Regions from separate parts of the Homo sapiens genome. Here region 2 is linked to region 1. The links are contacts of gene promoters, found by promoter capture Hi-C in blood cells and fetal thymus (Javierre and others, 2016). All regions are on one chromosome and are shown on one strand. Each heading gives the region's core, a stretch centred on a gene start or on the middle of the fragment in contact. The rest is flanking DNA. Distances are from core to core; before and after follow the strand shown.

Region 1 (4,373 bases), core at 687-3,186:
TAAGTGAAGGGATCAGAGAAATTAATACAATATGGTGCCTACTTTTCAGGAGCTTACCATTTAAGTGCAAAGTATTTGTTGCCATCTTAACACCTTTCCTGAAGAGTACCATGAAACATACTCTTGCATTAAATCACAAATTTCCCTTTTCCCCATAGGCTTGGAACTAATGGAACTTCAGAAAAATTTGACTTCAGTTTCTGAAATCTTAATCATGCACAGTTTAATCAATAGCTACATTTTTCTCACATTTTAAAATAGATTATTAAATGGTCTAATCAGATTCTAACTAGCCAAAAACTTGAAAAACATAGGAAGACAACCATGACTGACATATTTATTTTCCCAAATGCAAACATACTGCAAACATCAGCTGCTGAAAAATAGTGCTATTTGCATCTTACGTAGCATCTTACATGACCCACAGATAACTAAAAATTGCACAGGAGTTCAGCATCAAAATGTTAAAAAGTACCTAAATTAAATTCAACTTGAGATAAAACAAAAAGTTTATGTAATCATAGCTATATCACTTTTCTAAAAGTTCTGAAACTGATTTCCAACGTGGCACCTTATATGGCTTTAGTTTTTTCAAACATTTTCATTTACGCCATTACACTCAGAGAATTCATTAAAAAGTAAAATCTTGAAGTTTGGGTATAAGTTCCAACACAACGACTAATGTGGTACTTCAAACATCACAAACTCCAAATGATCTCAAATATGTTGTCCTCTGCTAATTTGCTGCTCCTAAAAATGTGCAATAAATGCAATTAAAAAGGAAAGTGCCTTCAATTTAATTGCAAGATTGACTAGGATATTTATCTTCTTACTAGATGTATCATAATAAAAAATCGTCTAATATGCATTACATTGTTTAATTCAGGAGGAAATTGGATATTCTCCCTTCCAATAAAAAAAGAAACTTTTTTTTTTTGCAACAGCCAATAATGACGGTGTTCTTTCTAGAATACATTGAAAATTGCCAAAATAGGTTATCTAAGGGGTTCACCTACCTAAAGCAACTGAAGATCATGAGTAAATACACAGGCACACAACTCCTCCCTCTCTTTTCCTGTGCCATATAACCTTCCTTTATTAAAATACTTTTTAAAGACCCTTATGGTCCTTTTGAGATTGGGCAGAAAAAAATCCCTGAAATAATACCCCCTTTTCCCAATGAAACATCTTTCAATACTGAATGAACTCACACCTCGCTTATATGTAAGCTAAGGTGAGAATGCATCTCTCATTCTCAAATCTCCAAACGAATTCTTATTTTGGTAACCTCTTCTTTTGCATCTAAACACACATGTTCCACACCACAGGATCTTCTTGATCCCAGCGAAGGTCCTTGCTTAATGTATGCGTTTTTCACTTCCATTTTTTAATCCTTCCAGGGTGAAAATTTCAAAAGGGGCGAACGTGGGTGAAAGAAACGAAGAAGGGGAGGGAGGAGACATGATGCCTGGGATTTCTGCCATCCTCGCTGCAACCCAGAATTCGTATATATTTTCCTCTCCCCAGCCCTCCCCCTCGCTCCCCTCTCGCCCCTTCCCTCCGCAGCAGGAGGGAGGAGGAGGGGCAGCTGGCTGAAGCCGCCACCTGCCACAGCGTGGAAAAGCTCCAGTTGTCACTTACCCAGCGGGGTGAGAATGGCTCATTTTTGCAGGATCCCTTTTGGACCCCGCGGCAGGTGCGGAGGGTGGGTGCGTGGGGCCCCGTGCGCGCTGGCGCTGCGACAGTCGCGCTCGAGGGGTGGCTCCGCACCGAGGTCCCCTGTGCGCGGGCACCTGGGCTGGGCCGCCGCCGCCCCTGGGCGCCCGGGCTACCCGCAGCCTCCCGGGCTCCCACCCTCCGTTGGTATCCACAGCTTCCCTGTTGCTAAGGGAGGAGAGAGGCAAGCGCCCAGGGTCTGGAGAAGCGGAGGCGCTACTGGAACCGAGCCTGCGGAAGCTGGAAGTGAAGCCAGCTTCTACCCCTTTTTCTGGGCCCTGATAGGGAGGAGACCCAAGCAAGCCCCTGCTCTGTTGCTCTAGGGCGCGAGTTCCCCAGGTATCTGTAACATGAAAACACAAACACACTCGTGCACACACACAGGCACACCCACACATTTTGGCTGGCGTGCTTCCTGCTAGGCCCTGGGGAAGGAAGGACTGGGTAGCGGCTGAGGGTAATAAGAGCAGGGAGCAGCTACTGCGTGATGCGGTGGTTTCCAGTGCTAAAACAGCGATTGCAAATTTGAGGGAAAGAAGGACGTCTCTCAATCTGTTTTGGGTTTTGAATTTGTTTCTGCATCTGTAAGGCATTACAATCGACTCATTTTCTCCTTGGAAAACCCCTATCCTTCTTCCTAGCTGAGGTCCCCACTTCCAGTGGGCAGGGCTGACAGAGCTGGCTTTCAGAAGATGGGGGAGACGCAGTTATTCAGTAAAGCACCCAGAAACAGTACTTACATTGGAATCCAGTACATGGAATGCAGGGCTTAGATGAAGCAGCCTGGATTTAAAGGAGGATCTGAATGTGGAGGAAGTTTAAGCACTAGACTTAGATAACCTATTCTTGTTTTGTTCATGCTTGGTCAGGTGTTTTGCAGAATGACTTGATCTCTGGCCTCAGGTTCCTCATGTATAAGTGAAGGGTTGGACGCATCAGTGGTGACTGAGCTTTCTAGGGTCTCTATTCTGGGTCAGCCACATTTAGAGGTGGGAAGAGCATCACCTCATTAACGTCATTCTGCTTTTCCTCACGTGGTAAAGACCCACTGAGTATGACAGAGTTCAAACTCCTTAGTGTGACATTCAGGGGCCCTCATCACCTGGCCCCAGTGTCTTTCCCGAGCCTGTGTGACCACTTTCTCCACTACCTTAAACTCTAGCAAAACCAAACTCTTGCGCTATCCCTCTAGTGGAAACATACTTTCACCCTTGACTACTTGGAAAACTTCTATTCATCCTGTAACACTTAGCTTAAACACTTCCTCTTTGACATCCTCAGGTGTGCTAATGACTCTGGCCTCAGGGGGCCACTCGGCTGGGATATGCCTGTTTTGTGCTTACCCCCTGTATAACACTTGCTGAAGTAGATGCTGCCTTTTCTACTCAAATGCAAGCTCCTCCATTTCATTTTGTACATCTATTCCATTTTTCTATATTCTCAGAAGGAAGCAACAGTTTAATAAATGTTTGCAGCATGAGTGAAGGGAAAAAAGGAAACTCTTGAGTGGTGGCATTTGTAACGAGTTGTTACTAAATGCTCTCCTCAGCCTTTTATTGAGCATTTACTATCTCATTTAATCCTCATCTTCATTTTATGAGACAGGTTTTTTTCTCCATTTCATAGCTATCAAAACTAATACATAAAGAAATTAGTTATTTTTTCTGACATCTACAGTGGCTTCCAATGGGAAAAACTAGGATTCAAATCCAGATCTATCTGATTTCAGCCTACAAATGCCTTTAACAATTACAAGTTGATTTACTTTTCCGTGGCCCCTATAAATTGCCAGAGAAGCCAGATATTCTATACCATTACAGGTTTTGGACCTGAGTGACCAGAGCCATTCCAAGAAAAAAAAAAAAATATGATGCTAGCCCAATAGCTTAGGTCCTGAGACTGAAGGATTCAAGGCTGCTTCAGAGCCCAACTGGCCAGAGCTAGACTAAGGCAGAGGTCATCTCCCCGTGTCCCCTACCGTATGTCTATCCCCACTAACATTGGTTTCCATTTGAGGTTGCCCTTAATGCTCACTGTAACTAGATTTCACCTGGATAAAAATCGGGACTGGGGAAGGAGGAGGAGGAACTAGAAAGATACACTGTAACTTGCCCCAGGTGCTGCCAATCCCTAAGGATGGTGTAAATAATGTAATCTTATATAGATACTAGTTGTTACAAAATTCATTTTTGCAAATAGAAAATGGTATTTTCTCACTGGTTCAATGAGAAGGGAAATTAAAATATACTATTTAGATACTCAGGATTCTGTAGAAAAGATTCGCCAGCACTCTGCAGACAGTGAGGTACCCTCAACAGCATGTATTAATTCATAAATGGGGTTTGAGTTCTCCACCCCTGTGAGCTCCACAATTTCACATTCCTGATGAAAACTGCAAGGAAGCTACTAATTTTCACTTCAGAAAATGCTCACTGTGAAAATGTATTGGGAATTTAGCCAGAATGAGTTTCTATGTTAATTTCTAGAATGGAGATAGGGAAAGGGAATAAAGAAAAAAACTAAATTAAACTGTTTCAAGACCAAATAGTCACTGGAGTCCTTTTCACTTTCTCATAGGAAAAAAAAAGTCCCCAGATGTCCCCAGAAGTATCATAAATTTATAAAAAGATTTCAGTTTTATAGAAAGACCTGTGGAG
Region 2 (4,373 bases), core at 929-3,428, 2.0 Mb before region 1:
CTTCCATGCAAGGAAAGAAATGGTTTGACATTTTTCAAGCTTTTGTTTCTAATATGGCACATAAAGCAGTCTACTGAAAAACAACAAGAAAGTATGAGTAAAGATGGCTAAGCACCCTTGTTTTATTAGTCTGGGTAAAGCACGGGCTAGACAACAGACATACTTTAATGTCCTCAATGTTAGAATTCATGATTGTATTAAATCAGACTCCCGAGTTATTCATGAAATTTGATTTGAGGACTAAGTCATGATGAGAAAAAAGAACCACAATTGACATATCGTTTGATTGCATCTAATTTCCTGGTGATGACCATGATTTGCTTATATTTGTAAGATTATTGCAAAATCTTTGGTATTCATTGTTTTTCTTAGCAATTTGGGATTTTAGAAAATATAAAGGTAGCATTATAACATTTGTATTTCCTACTCTGGTATTGTGTAATATTTTGCTTGAAATCTAAGTGTGGGATTGTTTTATATGGCAAATATATAGCTTGAGACACATATTTTCTTTCTTTCTAGAGATCGTAACCCCCTCGTTTTCTTCATATGTCTCCTAAATATACTCATATCAACCATGTCACATCACGTTAGATGTTCCTGGATAATTTCACTTTCATTAAGGAACAGTATTGAAGCCTATATCCTCAAAAGTGTATGCAACTGCTTTTGTCTCAACAAGAGGTAAACTGGCTGAACATTTTAGATTAACTTTGGAGGATAGTCACTGTTATTTGAAAGAAATTCTATATTGCTATAAAATTGTATTGGAAACTGCTTTAGCTTAGCTGCAAAACCTGGGCTAAAACTCAGGGCTGAAAATATTACTGTGCTGATTCATCACCTGAGCAGAGCAGAAATCATAAACATTTATAGTTTACTTCTCATAATCATTTGATTCCATCACTTCCCATTTGTAGACTGGTAATACTGTTGTGACAGAAACAAATATACTTGATGAAAGGTATATACTTGTTGAAAAGCCTTTCTAAAGAAAACTTTCAGCAGTAACAACAGTATTGCTTCTACTCTGCTTGTAGAACTCTTATAAAAAGTTCAGTTTTTATCATTCATACCTAGCATTTGCTGATCTGTGTTATTTATTACATTCCAGGTACAATCTGTATTATCCCCTTATTGATAGGACTGTATCATGTCTCTTTATACCACTCTCACTTCTAATATGGCTCTGATATGGTAGGCGCTCAAAAATATTTTGAATGGTAATGATATTGAATACTTTAGGCATGAAAACAGTTCATCTATTTCCACCATGGATTTATTCAAACAAAAAATTACTAGGTTGAGACTTCTTAAAATTACTTAAAGATGAATGGGACAAATTAAAGATAGAGCTTTCAAATTTCTTTAGTATTTGACCCACTGTTCCCTAAGAAGGTTTTTAAAAATTAATGTTAACACAACAAACACAACTATAGAAAAACAGTTAGCTTTTTTTCAAAGTCATGAACTTATATGTAATAAGAGTCAAATGCAACTACTTCTTTCAGGAAACAGATATTTCAGGATGAATATCACTGTACTATTTATAATTCATTCCTGTGTGTCTGACTGGATAATTTGTATTTATTCTTGGTTATTCTGAGCTGGGGAGGCATCAATGAGAAAAATACCAGCCATTTTCTACTATTGGTCTTTCTTTCCCTTTTTAAATATCTTTCTCATTTCTGTTTCCTTATTTTTTCACTTCTTATCATTTCATTTTGTGTGCATTCACTGTTCATTTTCCCCAACTAAATGCATTAATCATGTCATTCAAGGCTTCAAAGTTTGACTAACACTTCTATTTATATTTAAGATGATTATTATTAATATATGTATGACCAAGTAACAATGTCGTTACTGTTGCCAATACCATTGTTGTCATGAAATATTTAGTGTCTTTGGGAGATACCAAGAGTACCAGACTAGTAATAGATATATTCCTTACCACTGTCATAAAGTAGCTTCCAATCTGTTTGAGAGATCCAAGTCACATAATAATAGTTGTTCATATTTATTGAAAATATGCTATGTATCAGAAACAGATCTAACAATATTTTTGTATTCATGTACACATCACAAAACTCTACTAGATAGATATTATTATTCCCATGTTATAAACTCAGAAGTCTAAAGGATCAAAGAAAGGAAGTAATTTGCTCCAGTAGACACAGATAATAAATAATAGAGGCAAGATTTGAACCCAGGCAGTCTGGTGCAAGAGCATTAATTTTGGCAATGAATGTGATTGCACTAAAAGACACATAAAATACATTTTCCTAAGGTCTTTATGGTTTAATATAAAGTAATAAGCCATCAGAGATATGGTAAATCTTTGTGAGTGTGCTTCTGCTTTTCACATTATTTTACTTGCTTTATTTCCTTGTTTAATATAGGCAAATACAGGGAATAAAGAAAAACCTGAATTTATTTTCCTGCCAGTTGTTAATGTCAGAAAGATCCAGTCACATATTTCCAAAAAAGAATATGTTCAAGGGTTGCAAAGTAATTAAAAACTGTAAGTTAGCTGTAGGATAGAAAGGTGCACCTGTTTTTGGCTTTCATGAATGCGTGATTCATTTTATGTGAAAGAAAATGTGCAGCGTACTCACAGCAAAAAAAAAAAAAATGAGAAAAGAGTACATTATATAGAAAGTGTATTGGCCAGGCGCGATGGCTCAGACCTGTAATCCTAGCACTTTGGGAAGCCAAGGCGGGTGGATCACCTGAGGTCAGAGTTCGAGACCAGCCTGGCCAACATGGTGAAACCTCGTGTCTACTAAAAATACAAAAATTAGCCGGACATGGTGGCAGACACCTGTAATCCCAGCTACTCTGGAGGCTGAGGCAGGAGAATCTCTTGAACCCGGGAGGCAGAGATTGCAGTGAGCCAAGATCGCGCCATTGTACTCCAGCCCAGGCTGGCAACAGAATGAGACTCGGTCTCAAAAACAAAAAAAAAAAAGGAAAAGAGAAAGAAAGCGTATCATCCTCAGAAAAAAATTCATTGGCAGCCCTCACAAGAAAGTTCTATTAGGTTCTTTTTCTTGACTGTAGGTGCTCCCCAACATAGCTGTCAGACCTCGGTAACCCCTATGCAAGTAATTTCAGCTCAGTGGACTAAAATGAAGTAGTGACTAAATAAAAACAGAAACCTAATTATTGATATTTTAATATGTACAAAGATATGATTCCTACCTGCCAGTTCTTTACAATAGCACAAAAATACTATTTACCATTATTAGCAAAAATGAAATACTCCAAGGTTGTCAGCTCAAAACCTATTAATATTTGAGTAGTTGTTGCTATATATTAACATGATACTAAAGTGTTTGGTTAATTTATTAATGATTAAAACTGTCAAACCAACTTCTTTTTACTTTTAATGAGAATTATTTTAATGGGAATTTATAAGTTAGGTGAAGTTTAATGTTTTCACCTATTCTTGACCTTGGATTAACATGGGAAGGTGAAATTTTGCTTCCGTTTTGACCTATTGTAAAACATTTTCATTTGTCTATATTCTAGTGGATCTTATATAAACCCTCATTCTGTAGTTAATAAAATCTTAAAAATGACTGACTTTGCTTAGTGCTTAAGTTTAATGATAAATATTTAGAATGAACAGTACCAATTCATACATGATAGTCATTATTGAAACATGTTCCCATGTATATTACAACTCCTTGCCTAAAGAACATAGCTCAATCTTTATCCAGGAGTTGTGAGACGAGTGCTTGTGCTATTCCTGTCAAGAACGGTTTCATCACTTTATGGAATATTCTACATATATTTTTAAAGTTCACAAGATCTTTTGCTAGTTCCTCAAGTTTCAACCTTTAAACCTTTCTATCTTTACTATAGACTGAATGAACTGTATATATTTTTTTCTTCCAGCCATTGTCCAAACTCATGTGAAATCGAAAATTAAAAGTTGTAACACTCTTTGAACATTTTACTGCCCATAATTCTCCTTGCACAATATATGCTGATGAATTTTCTGCAGAATGCCATTCTCAATAGTGGGGAGAAGTTTATACAAATTCTCTTGAAATTATATTTGAAAAATAACACTCTAAATTCTGCTGAAAGACTCTCACCTTTACTAAAAGTGTTTTTTCTTCAGGTCTACCTTCTATTCTCTGGGAGCACTGGTAGAAAACTTAGCAATAGAATATCTGTGCTTGCTGTCATGCTGGTGTTTTGTTTCATTTATTTTCACCAGATAACAGAACTATAAAATAATACATTATTAAGATAAGACCTAGTAGTAAGGTTCACTTCTCAATGTTATTTAGGCATATTAAAATCTAAGAAGCTTTGCATTAATAACTTTTTGAAATTATCTATAGACTAGTAAACACAAAAAA

What was found. Contacts are between HindIII fragments. The CHiCAGO score rates a contact against its expected background, and 5 or more counts as called.
Region 2: a contact is called between a fragment that was not itself captured here and the fragment with the promoter of ERICH3 in region 1, in 1 of 17 cell types (naive B cells). The highest score is 6.7, in naive B cells.

What each region holds. Positions count from the first base shown.
Region 1 is chr1:74,671,856-74,676,228 of GRCh38, forward strand. It overlaps ERICH3 (glutamate rich 3), which reads right to left and starts at 1,937. Exons shown (of 15, transcript NM_001002912.5): 1 at 1,642-1,937. The coding sequence starts at 1,664. The HindIII fragment of the contact is 21,395 bases long and covers 1-4,373 here.
Region 2 is chr1:72,624,033-72,628,405 of GRCh38, forward strand. All of the region lies in intron 3 of LOC105378797 (a long non-coding RNA gene), which reads left to right. Among named protein-coding and RNA genes, the nearest start is that of LINC02796, 140 kb to the right of the region's middle. The HindIII fragment of the contact is 4,282 bases long and covers 38-4,319 here.